Linked DNA regions of Homo sapiens: all the other regions are linked to region 3. Evidence: promoter capture Hi-C in human tissues and cell types (Jung and others, 2019). All regions are on one chromosome and are shown on one strand. The core of a region is centred on a gene start or on the middle of the fragment in contact, and the rest is flanking DNA. Distances in the headings are between cores, read along the strand shown.

Region 1 (3,542 bases), core at 500-2,999, 410 kb before region 3:
ATGAGCACCTCCTTGTATCTTGACATTTAAAAGATAATTCCACAGTTTCCAATTAGTGTCATAATCATGAGTGAATGATTTGTGAAATATTTTTAATGTACTGGGTTTTTTTCAGTTTCCCAGTATTAACGAAAGGCTTCTTTATAAATAAAACACTCTACATATGATTTTGGCTAAGTGGGGGGTGCCTCAGTTGTGAGAAAGTAGAGAGAGCTGTGCTGACTTTACATGAATGAGGTGACACTATCAGGGAAAAAACTAGTACCTCAAGTCACACACAAAAACCAGTCTCATAACTATAGTCTTTATGTTTTCATCTCTCAACAATAACTCTGCATGCCTAAACATCTAACCTTAAAGGATTAGTTGAATAGATTACAGTATGTTATGCTCTGGAGTACAATACAGCATTAAACATCATGTGGAAGACTAATGATGTGAAAACCTGTGCTATATTAAATGAACAAAGCAGGAGATGTAAACATATAGACAACATAATATCATGTTTTATTTTCTTTAAAAAAAGTTTATTTGTGTAGAGAAAAAAGGACTGGAAGGTTATGTAATACCAAGCATTGTGCGACTGGAATATATTTGACTATTATTATCAGACTGCAAGGTAATACCAATATACCAAAATATTAACTCAAAATATTAATGATGAATTTCCCTGAATGGTGGATATAGGAGTGGTCCTTTCTCCTTTTCTTTGTGTCTCCCTCCCTTCTTCCCTTTCTTCCTTCTTTCCTGTCTCTTTTCTTCCTTTTTAAACCTCTGTTCTTTAAACCTAAAGTGGGCATCGATTTATTCCTTTTATGATTATAAGACTTTTTAATTTTTTTCATTGAGGTGAAATTAACGTAACATAAAATTAACCATTTAAAGTGAACAATTTACTGGCATTTAGTACATTCACAGTATTTTGCAACCACCACCTGTAAGTCTAAAACATTTTCATCATCCCCAAATGAAACTTTATATCTATTAAGCAGTTATTCCTCATTCTCCCCTAACCGCTGTCCCTAGGAACCACAAATCTGCTTTTGATCTCCGTGGATACCTCTTCTGGATATTTTTTATAAATGGAATCATAAGATATGTGAATTTTGTGTCTGATGTCTTCTACTTAGCATATTTTTGAGGTTCATCCACATTGTACTGTGTGTCAGTACTCCATTTCTTTTTATGGCCGAATAATATTCCCTCATATAGATCATGACTTGTTTATTCATACATCCATTGATGGACATTTGGGTTGTTTCCCATATAGAACTTTCCTTCCTTCCTTCCTTCCTCCCTCCCTCCCTCTCTCTCTCCTCTCTCTTTCCTTCTTTCTTTCTTTCCTTCTTTCTTCCTTCCTTCTTTTCTCTTTCTTTTTTCTTTCTTTCTTCCTTTCTTTCCTTCTTTCTTTCTTCCTTTCTTCCTTCTTTTCTCTTTCTTTCTTTCTTTTTTCTTTCTTTCTTCCTTCCTTCCTTTCTCTTTCTTTTTTCTTTCTTTCTTTCTTTTTTTCTTTCTTTCTTTCTCTCTCTCTCTTTCTTTCTTCCTTTCCTTTTTTTTTCTTCAAATAGAGACGGGTCTTACTATGTTGCCCAGGTTGGTCTCAAACTCCTAGCTTCAAGCAAGTCTGCCTCAGCCTTCCGAGTGACTGGGATTACGGGATGCAAGCCACTCAGCCCAGCTTCACATTTAAAACTTTTAGAAGTTATTCTATAACACTGAGTTTGTCAGGTAATGAACCTGAAGATTAATGAAGAAAAGGGAGTGGGCTAGGGAAAAATCAGTATTAGCAAACTTTGTCAATTTTCTTAATTTAAAAGTATACATAAGCACGGAAAATTTGATGTACGGGAGGTGATATGAGCAAATTTAAGTATGCCTCTTACTCATGTTTCCCTGTCCTCCAATTTTCTTCCTCAGAGGCAACCTCTCTAACACATTTTTGTGTTTAAATATATTTTTTGCATGAACAAATATACATGTGTATTTGTATATATGCATATATATTTTCTGACTTTTTTCCTTCTTTCAAAGAATTATTAGTGATATTCTAAGCTCCAGTAACACACAGGGAAAGGTGGCTTGCTAATAGTTTTTTTGTGTAATTTTTTGAGACTGGGGCTTGCTCTGTTGCCCAGGCTGGAGTGCAGTGGCACGATCACAGCTCACTGCAGCCTCTATCTTACGGGCTACAGTCAGCCTCCCACCTTGGCCTCCCGAGAAGCTGGGACTACAGGCATGTACCACAACACCCAGCTAATTTTTTTATTATCTTTTTTCGTAGAGACAAGTTTACACTATGTTGCCCAGGCTCGGCTAATGCTCCTTTGAAGAGCTCCTTCCTTTCCTTTATCTGAGCTCCCACTCCTCTTTGAGTGTTCCCTTAACCTTCCAAATAAACTACTTGCACTCAAGTCCTAGTTTCAGGTCTCTTCTGGGAACCCAAGCTGAGACACAAACTTTATTTTATTAAATTTTTATAGTGCTCTGGGAGGTAGGTGTTTTAAAAAACTCCATCCTGCAGGTGAGGAAACAGAGTCAGCCAAGTAACCGAGTCAAGTTAGAGAATGGCAGCTAAGATTCTAACTCAGGTGGATGGGTGCTTTTCTTTTCTTCCTTTTTCTTTTCTTTTTTCTTTTTTGTTTATATCCCTTGCTTTGCTCTGGGGAATAACCAGCGTCTAACTTCAGAGAGTATAAACCTGCAGTAGCGCTAGCTGGAAAGCAAGGCCTGGTGCTGGCTGTTGGGGGAGCAACACACAAAGGTGTCATTCTTTGTAATGTCAGGCTCCTACTTTTACACGGTTTTCTGTTTTGTCTTTTCATCATAGCCTTCACAATTGTCATATCAAAGTCGTTTCCTAAAAACATTAAGCCTTATAAGATGCACCACATTTGTTTGTAAAATGTACAACTTTTGGAAACTCCATTCAGGGGGTAGACACCAGACCTCCCCCTGGCTCCTGTGCGCATGTTTAATCTCTCTTCAAATGCCCACACCATTTCCTGCAAAAATTGATTGGCTATGGTTCATCACCTCCTCTGGGTGATCTGCTATCTTCCTTCTCTTATGACTCAGGTTATTGACAGCTGGGAAAAGGCACACACCTCTGACTGATGGTGACCCAAAAAGAAATCATAGAGAAGCAAATTTGGCTCCACTGGTTTGATTTTTCCTTCCTTCCTCCTTACACATCCAAGGAGGTTTTGCTCTGGAAATCTCTTGCTATGGGTAAGTGAATGGGTTTGTGGGGTAGGTTCTCATGGAGACGCCTCACCAGGGCCTCTCCCGCTATTTCCTCAGAACCCCACCTAACAGCCACATTACCCTTAGCATTAACTCTTTCAGACACAGACAATAGATATTATAAAAGTATTTTATTAATTCTCTTCACTGTGGTAAGTTTTATGACTTTTATAATCTTTCTAAGAACAATCACAACATTGGATGCCTCTGAATATGGAGATAACAAGACTTGTTTCACAGCATTTCCTCACAATCAAAGTACACTGGAATCAATACTCTTGGGAAAAGTTCCCGAAACA
Region 2 (3,178 bases), core at 469-2,968, 360 kb before region 3:
TTATTCTAAGGAGCTGGGAACTGCCTTAGGCTGATTTTTAAAGGGTCCCATAGGCAGTACATTCTCAATTAAGCAGAATAAAATGTAGAGGACAGTGCTGATTAAGAATCTGGAAAAGAGCCTTCCTTTGATTAACATGAGAATGAGAAGAATTTATGTCTTCAAAACACTTCCCATGCGGATTAATAGTTAAGAACAAGATCTGTGTTCACTCTGAGAGGCCGAGGCGGGCGGATCACGAGGTCAGGAGATTGAGACCATCCTCTGCTTTTTGTATTTTTAGTAGACCGTCTCTACTAAAAATACAAAAAGTTAGCTGGGTGTGGTGGCGGGCGCCTGTAGTCCCAGCTACTCGGGAGGCTGAGGCAGGAGAATGGCGTGAACCCGGGAGGCGGAGCTTACAGTGAGCCAAGATCACGCCACTACACTCCAGCCTGGGCGACAGAGCAAGACTCCATCTCAAAAACAAACAAACAAACAAACAAAAAACTCTCTTCTGAGTCCTGCTTTATCCTAGAAGTCATGTTATATCCATCTCTATTAAGAACAAAACCTTTCAACAAACATATACTGACTGGCTACTCCTCATCAAGCCGAATAATGAGGATGAAAAGAAAGCTTTTATTTTCCCAGTGTATGAGAAGAAATCCCTGTTACAAAATGCAGATAATATGTTTCATCAATTATAAGATGCACATTTTTGTCACCCGATAACATACCTGAAATTTGCGTGTATCTTACAATTGAGGGCAGGTCATAGATTCATTAGCAGCATTTTTTGCCCTTTTAACTATTTCATAGACTAGCTCATGGACAGAAGGGCTCATAGATGGGTCATCTTCAAATTGAGGCATCTCAGATTAAGTTAAATATGACAGTAACTATCTCTCAGGATTGTTCAGGGGGTAACCTTGGAAAAGCACTTATTCATTATTTACTGCTACATAGCAGATTACTTCAAAACATAAGAGTTTAAAACAACAGTTTTTTTCTCACAGTTTCTGCGGGCCAGGAATCCAGGAGCAGATTAGCTCAGGTTCTGCCTCAGGGTCTCTGAAGAGGTTACAGTCAAGGTGTCAGCTGGGTCTGCTGTCATCTACGGCTTGCTAGTGGAGGATCCACTTCCAAAATCACCCACACAGCTGTTGGTAGAAGGCTTCAGTTCTCCACACTGTGAGCCTCTCCACAGAGCTTCTTACAATAAGGCAACTGGCTTCTTCTACAGTGAGTGATGAGAAAGAGAGCCCAAGATGGAAGCTGCAGTCTTTTATACCTAATCTTGGAAGTTACCTATTATTCCTTCTTTCATATCCTATTGGTCACACTGGGCAACAATAGTACAAGATGGGAAGGGACTACACAGGAGGCAGGGATCACTGGGAACCACCTTGGAGACTGGCCATCGTAGAACTCAACACACTGAATGATGAAAATAAAATAAGAAATAAGTGTTAGTTTCTTTCCTTTTTACCTCATGTGGATGCTGTTGAAAGAGATTGAGTCTACACTTGAATTTGTATTATCATCAAACTCAATAACTTCAGTCTATGTCAACTCCAGTTGTATATCTGGAGTGGCAACTGGAATGAGAGAAAGATGCTGAAGAGTGTATTTTGTGTCTGACTAGTTGGTATTGTTGGTGACAGATGAAGAGCTTTCACCTATCTTGTATCAAGTTGGAAAATCTTAGAATTTTACTGATATCTGTTTGGAAAGAAATGCTGAAAAAAGCTAACTTAGGCCCTTTTATGTCCTTCTGGCTTCTGTCATATGAGGACACAACAAAAAGGCCCTCATCAGACACCAAATTCCACTGTTTTGACCTTGGACAGCTCAGCTTCCAGGCACTGTGAGAAATAAATTTCTATTGTTTATAAATGACCCAGAGCATAGTATTTTGTTATAGCAGTACAAAAGGTTTAAGATAGGTCACAAGGACAACTCACTGTGGCCCCGGAGTTGAGATATTTTGACAGTCCATGCAAAGTCTATCTACCTAATTCAGTGGGTAGCTGGAACAGACCACTGTGATTGGCCAACTGAACAGGATCACATGAATGCTAGAGGGTAGTTCTCAAAAGGCAAGAAAAAGGAGATTCCAGGTGGTCAAAACAATAATACATGGTTGCTATGAGTGGACATGGTGGGAACCTCACAAGTACCTGGGGTGGAGAGAGGGACATGGAAAATAGAGAGCAGAGTGAGGTGGCTCCAATGACCAGTTGCAATTGGAACTCAGTGGCCCCTGGTCAAATGCTTGTGTATTCAGTGCTGGAAAGTAGAAAACCAGTGCAGATGCTGACAGACCTAACTTAACCACCCACCTCGACTCACTTCCAGCTTCCATCCAGTCTGTACGTAATTCTTCAGCCTTCCAAACCTAATAATACCTCCAGAAATGGAGACACAGGATCATGCTGTGGAAAGAGCAAGTACTAGTAGTCAGGGCCCTCAGTCTCACATTTGCCCCTGACTTGATCAAGTTCACTTCCTTCTCAATAAACATGGCATTAGGCCAGACAATATTTAAGCAGAGTATGGTGGAAATGTGGGCAGGTCTGAGGGTGGGGAAAATAAAAGGATAAAATACCCCTGAGGGATTAGATATATTTAAAATCACAAAGGTATTATATCACAGATCTATAACTTTACTAAAATATAAAAATGAATGAAAATATATTTGGTATTATTTTATCTTAGCCCTGTAAGAGAAGCTAATTTTCTCTTGTGGCTCTTCAGTTTTTAGTAAGAGAAGTGCAAGCAACTTTTTCTTATGGGCCAGGATGAAAAATAGCCTTATGAACTCCCAGGAGGAGTTTTTTCTTAAGGGGATACATATCATTTAAACCACAGAAGAGAGGTAAGTAAAGGGTGAGTAACCTAGATTGTCTAGAAAAAGGTGGTATTAGAGAGACCCTTTATGTTTTCTGAGTTGCAGAGTTGTGTTGGAAATAACACTGCCACCTATCCCTTGGCCATGATTAGAAAGAAACAATGGGAGGCAGTTCTGTAAACAGTGGAATCCATTTGACTCAAAGCTTCTGGGGCCAGCTCCGGTGTACGTAAACTGATTTTATGAATTTAAAGGGCTGCCACACTGGGGCCCCGGGCAGAGCTACATGTTGTGGGAGGCCATTGTCCTCCAAAAAGGGCCATGTGGCCCCAGCAGGGACTGGCA
Region 3 (3,200 bases), core at 530-3,029:
CCCGCCCAAACCAACAGACACGCACCCCAATCTCCAATAATCACTTAGTTGCCAGAAGAGAAGGTAAATACATGGATTTTTCCTCCTGCTGAACAGTCCCCACCCTCCCAAGACCCCTAGCACAGGCTTCAAGATTTCTCCAGTCATTCCCTGGGACAATTCTGGGCCATGTTCCATCTCCAAGAAACATTAGCAAGTTGGTGGGCATCCAAATGCATAGGACACTTCGGATCAAGTTCTGGTAGGAGTCAGTTGCTTAACCAGCGAGTTGGGACATTTTGTCATGAAGTCCTTCTCTTTCTGACCTGGCTTTCCCTCATTCTCCCTTGCCCGTTTTCCAAGGTGGAGGCTGGAAGCAGTAGAAATTCCACCGAGACATGAGAGGAAGTTGTGGGTTGCCTAGTGGGCCAGCGCATCCCTCGGCTGCTGACCTGAGAGCCATCTTCACACATTTTATTAGGCCCTCTCCCACGGCAGGCCAACTACTAAGTTGTAGGAAGACCAGTTCCCCACCCCCGAAGGGCCACCAGCTTCCCAGTCACTCACACTCTAGGAAAGCTCTGAACAGTGGCACCTGTCCCTTGACAGGCCCATCAACATCCGCCTGTACTTGCTTCTATTATCTTCAGCCCATTATAACATGGGTAACATCGCTGTCAATCTGTACCAAAAATACTTAAGCTAGGCAAAATGAATGATCATCTAACTCAAATGAAGTCCAGGTTCCAGGCGATCATGGAGAAAAATGTAATAAGGTGAGCAGGATTCAAGGATTTCTGGAAGCAAGGATATGGATGATTTCCAAGATTAAATAAGGGATAGAACACAGGTTAGAACACCAGACTAGCCAACATTACAAATGACCAAGAAAGACCAATGACAGCTGGGTAGGAGTTTAATCTTCCTAAAGACGGCTGAACTCTGGGTTACACCTGCAATCTTTGTGGCAGTTCAACTGCTGTAATAACCCTGGCTATTAGCCTCAATGACACGGAAGGACCAGCTAACTCGGAGCTTCCCAGTGCTGGGGCTAACTCGTGGAGTGGCCCGGACGCCTCGCAACAAGTGAAGCCAAAGCCGGCGCCCTCCCACCAGACGGGGCTCGCGCCCGGGGACGCTAGTCCGACTCCCGGCTTCCCGCAACCCGGCCCCAAAGGCCTAAAAATAGGCTCAGCGTGGCGGCCGGGGCCGGGGCGGGCGGCGGAGGAGCCGGGCGGAGGCCGCAGTATCCCCGCCTCGGAGCCCCTGCTTCCTGGGGTTCCGGGCCGCCAGAGGCCGGGGCAGCTCCCCACGATGCCGCTGCGCCCCGGACTCCCGCCTGGAACCCCCAGGGGAACCGGCTCCCCACCCCCACACGGCCCCGCCGCAGCTGCTCCGCCCGCCGGCCCTTCGCCGTGAGAGCAAGAGGAAGGACGAGGAGACGGAAGCAGGAACGAGAGCTCCGGCCGAGGGCCCGGGCTCTGCCCGGCTGCCCCATCCCTGCACTCTGGGGGGCGGCGGGGCGGCAGCTGACGCAGGCAGAAACACGCCCGGCTGCGGCCAGCCAGCAACTTTGCGGCGGTTTCGTCCTGCCGGGAACACTCCGGGGCTGAGGGCGGAGGAGAAGGGAGGCGGCGGCTGGGCAGGAAGCCGGGGTCCCGGGGCTGGCGGCGGCGGGCTGCGCGGCGGTACCTGTCATGGTGCTGCCGGGTGCGCAGGCGGCCGGGGCAGCCTCAGGTTGGTGACTCAGAGAAGCCGGCACCGGGAGGGAGCGCGGCCAGCGAGGAGGCACGGCGGGGAACCGAGCGTCTGCCCCGTGCGCTCTTATAGCGGCCGTCACGTGGCCGCGCACGCTCTCGCTGCCGTCCGCATCCTCCCAGCTGCGCGGCCGGCAGGGGCGGTGGCCCGCGGGGCTCCGGGTCCCGCGTCTCCCTCGGCTCCTCCTCCCTCCCTCGGGGCTAGGCTGCCGCTGCGGCTGCGGCTCACCGGCGCCCCTGCTCCTACTTCCCCGGGGCGCCTGCCCTTGTCAACCGCGCGCCCCCTGTCGCCGCTAAACCTGGGAGTTAAGGGGGACTTTGGGGCTGAGTGCGGCATCAAACTCCCCAAGAAGCCAAGGGTTAGGGAACCTTAAAAAACAAGCAAACAAACCCCAGATTACTCTAGTTAAAATCGTGAGTCTGAACTGCTTGAATGAAACGTAAAATTTACGCTTTTTTTGCAGAATTTCGATCAGCCTCTATAATCATTCCTTAGTGTACTCACAATGGTTTTGTACCCTTAACCTAAAAAATATAGTGAATATTTCGTAAATGTTAAATTCTTGGAGCCATCTGCATCAATTAGGCATTTAAGTGCTTCATTTAATCCTTGTACGAACTCAGTGAGGTGTTACATATTCATTTTACAGACGAGGAGGAAACTGAGCTCAGAAAAGTTAAATTAACTTTTCTTTTCTTTTTTTTCTTGTATTTTTAGTAGAGACAGAGTTTCACCATGTTGGCCAGCCTGGTCTGGAACTCCTGGCCTCAAGTGATCTGCCAGCCTTAGCCTCCCAAAGTGCTAACTTTTCTATAGTCATATAATATAAATGGAGAAAGTAGGATTTAAACCCTGGCAGTTTGGTTACAGAATCAACCTTCCCACCCAGAAAGTCTTGGTGCCTCTTGTACACAGGGGCTCCAAAAAGGTTAGTAAATTATTGTAACTGTGGTTAGCCAATGCTAACCTGTTTCACAAATCTTGAAATGGTCAATTTGTCATTTTTCTAGGAAGTTGAGAAATAGCTTTAATGTGATCACATCCTTCTCTGCTCCCCATCCCCAGTCCAAACACAGAACAAGCCTCGGGTAGTTCAGTTCTCTGCAAACTGAAAACTGAAATTGCTCGGTAAATGTTGAATGAGTACTGCAAAGCCATTTGGAAACCAATCAGGAAGTTGACATCAGTTCAAAAAGCAAAACAGATGCTTAAGAATAAGTGATTTATTTGCAAAGGTGGTACTGCTGTCCTCAAACCAGTTATATCACTGTTTCCTCGTGTGTGGGTGTGGATCTCCTACATCAGAATCACTTGGGGGCACTGGTTAAAGCGTAGATTTTTGGGCCTAAGCCCAGACCTCCTGAATCAGAATCTTAAGGGTAGGTTTATTTTGGTGCAAAATAATTTTGAAATCCATGCATTTTTTTTTTATAATATGTATATTCTATGGACTTTTTGAAGTC

The links. The method cuts DNA at HindIII sites, captures the fragments that hold promoters and counts their contacts. A contact is called where the count stands out against the background at its distance.
Region 1: a fragment that was not itself captured here is called in contact with the fragment with the promoter of GYG1 in region 3 in 1 of the 25 tissues and cell types used here (neural progenitor cells).
Region 2: a fragment that was not itself captured here is called in contact with the fragment with the promoter of GYG1 in region 3 in 1 of the 25 tissues and cell types used here (H1 embryonic stem cells).

What each region holds. Positions count from the first base shown.
Region 1 is chr3:149,404,304-149,407,845 of GRCh38, reverse strand. It overlaps LOC105374151 (a long non-coding RNA gene), which reads left to right and starts at 3,056. Exons shown (of 3, transcript XR_924574.3): 1 at 3,056-3,228. The HindIII fragment of the contact is 7,007 bases long and covers 1-3,542 here.
Region 2 is chr3:149,352,727-149,355,904 of GRCh38, reverse strand. No RefSeq gene overlaps it. Among named protein-coding and RNA genes, the nearest start is that of TM4SF18, 21 kb to the right of the region's middle. The HindIII fragment of the contact is 4,261 bases long and covers 1-3,178 here.
Region 3 is chr3:148,990,119-148,993,318 of GRCh38, reverse strand. GYG1 (glycogenin 1) reads right to left here and starts at 1,779. Exons shown (of 8, transcript NM_004130.4): 1 at 1,672-1,779. The coding sequence starts at 1,678. RefSeq lists silencers at 763-1,057, 1,091-2,140. The HindIII fragment of the contact is 14,804 bases long and covers 1-3,200 here.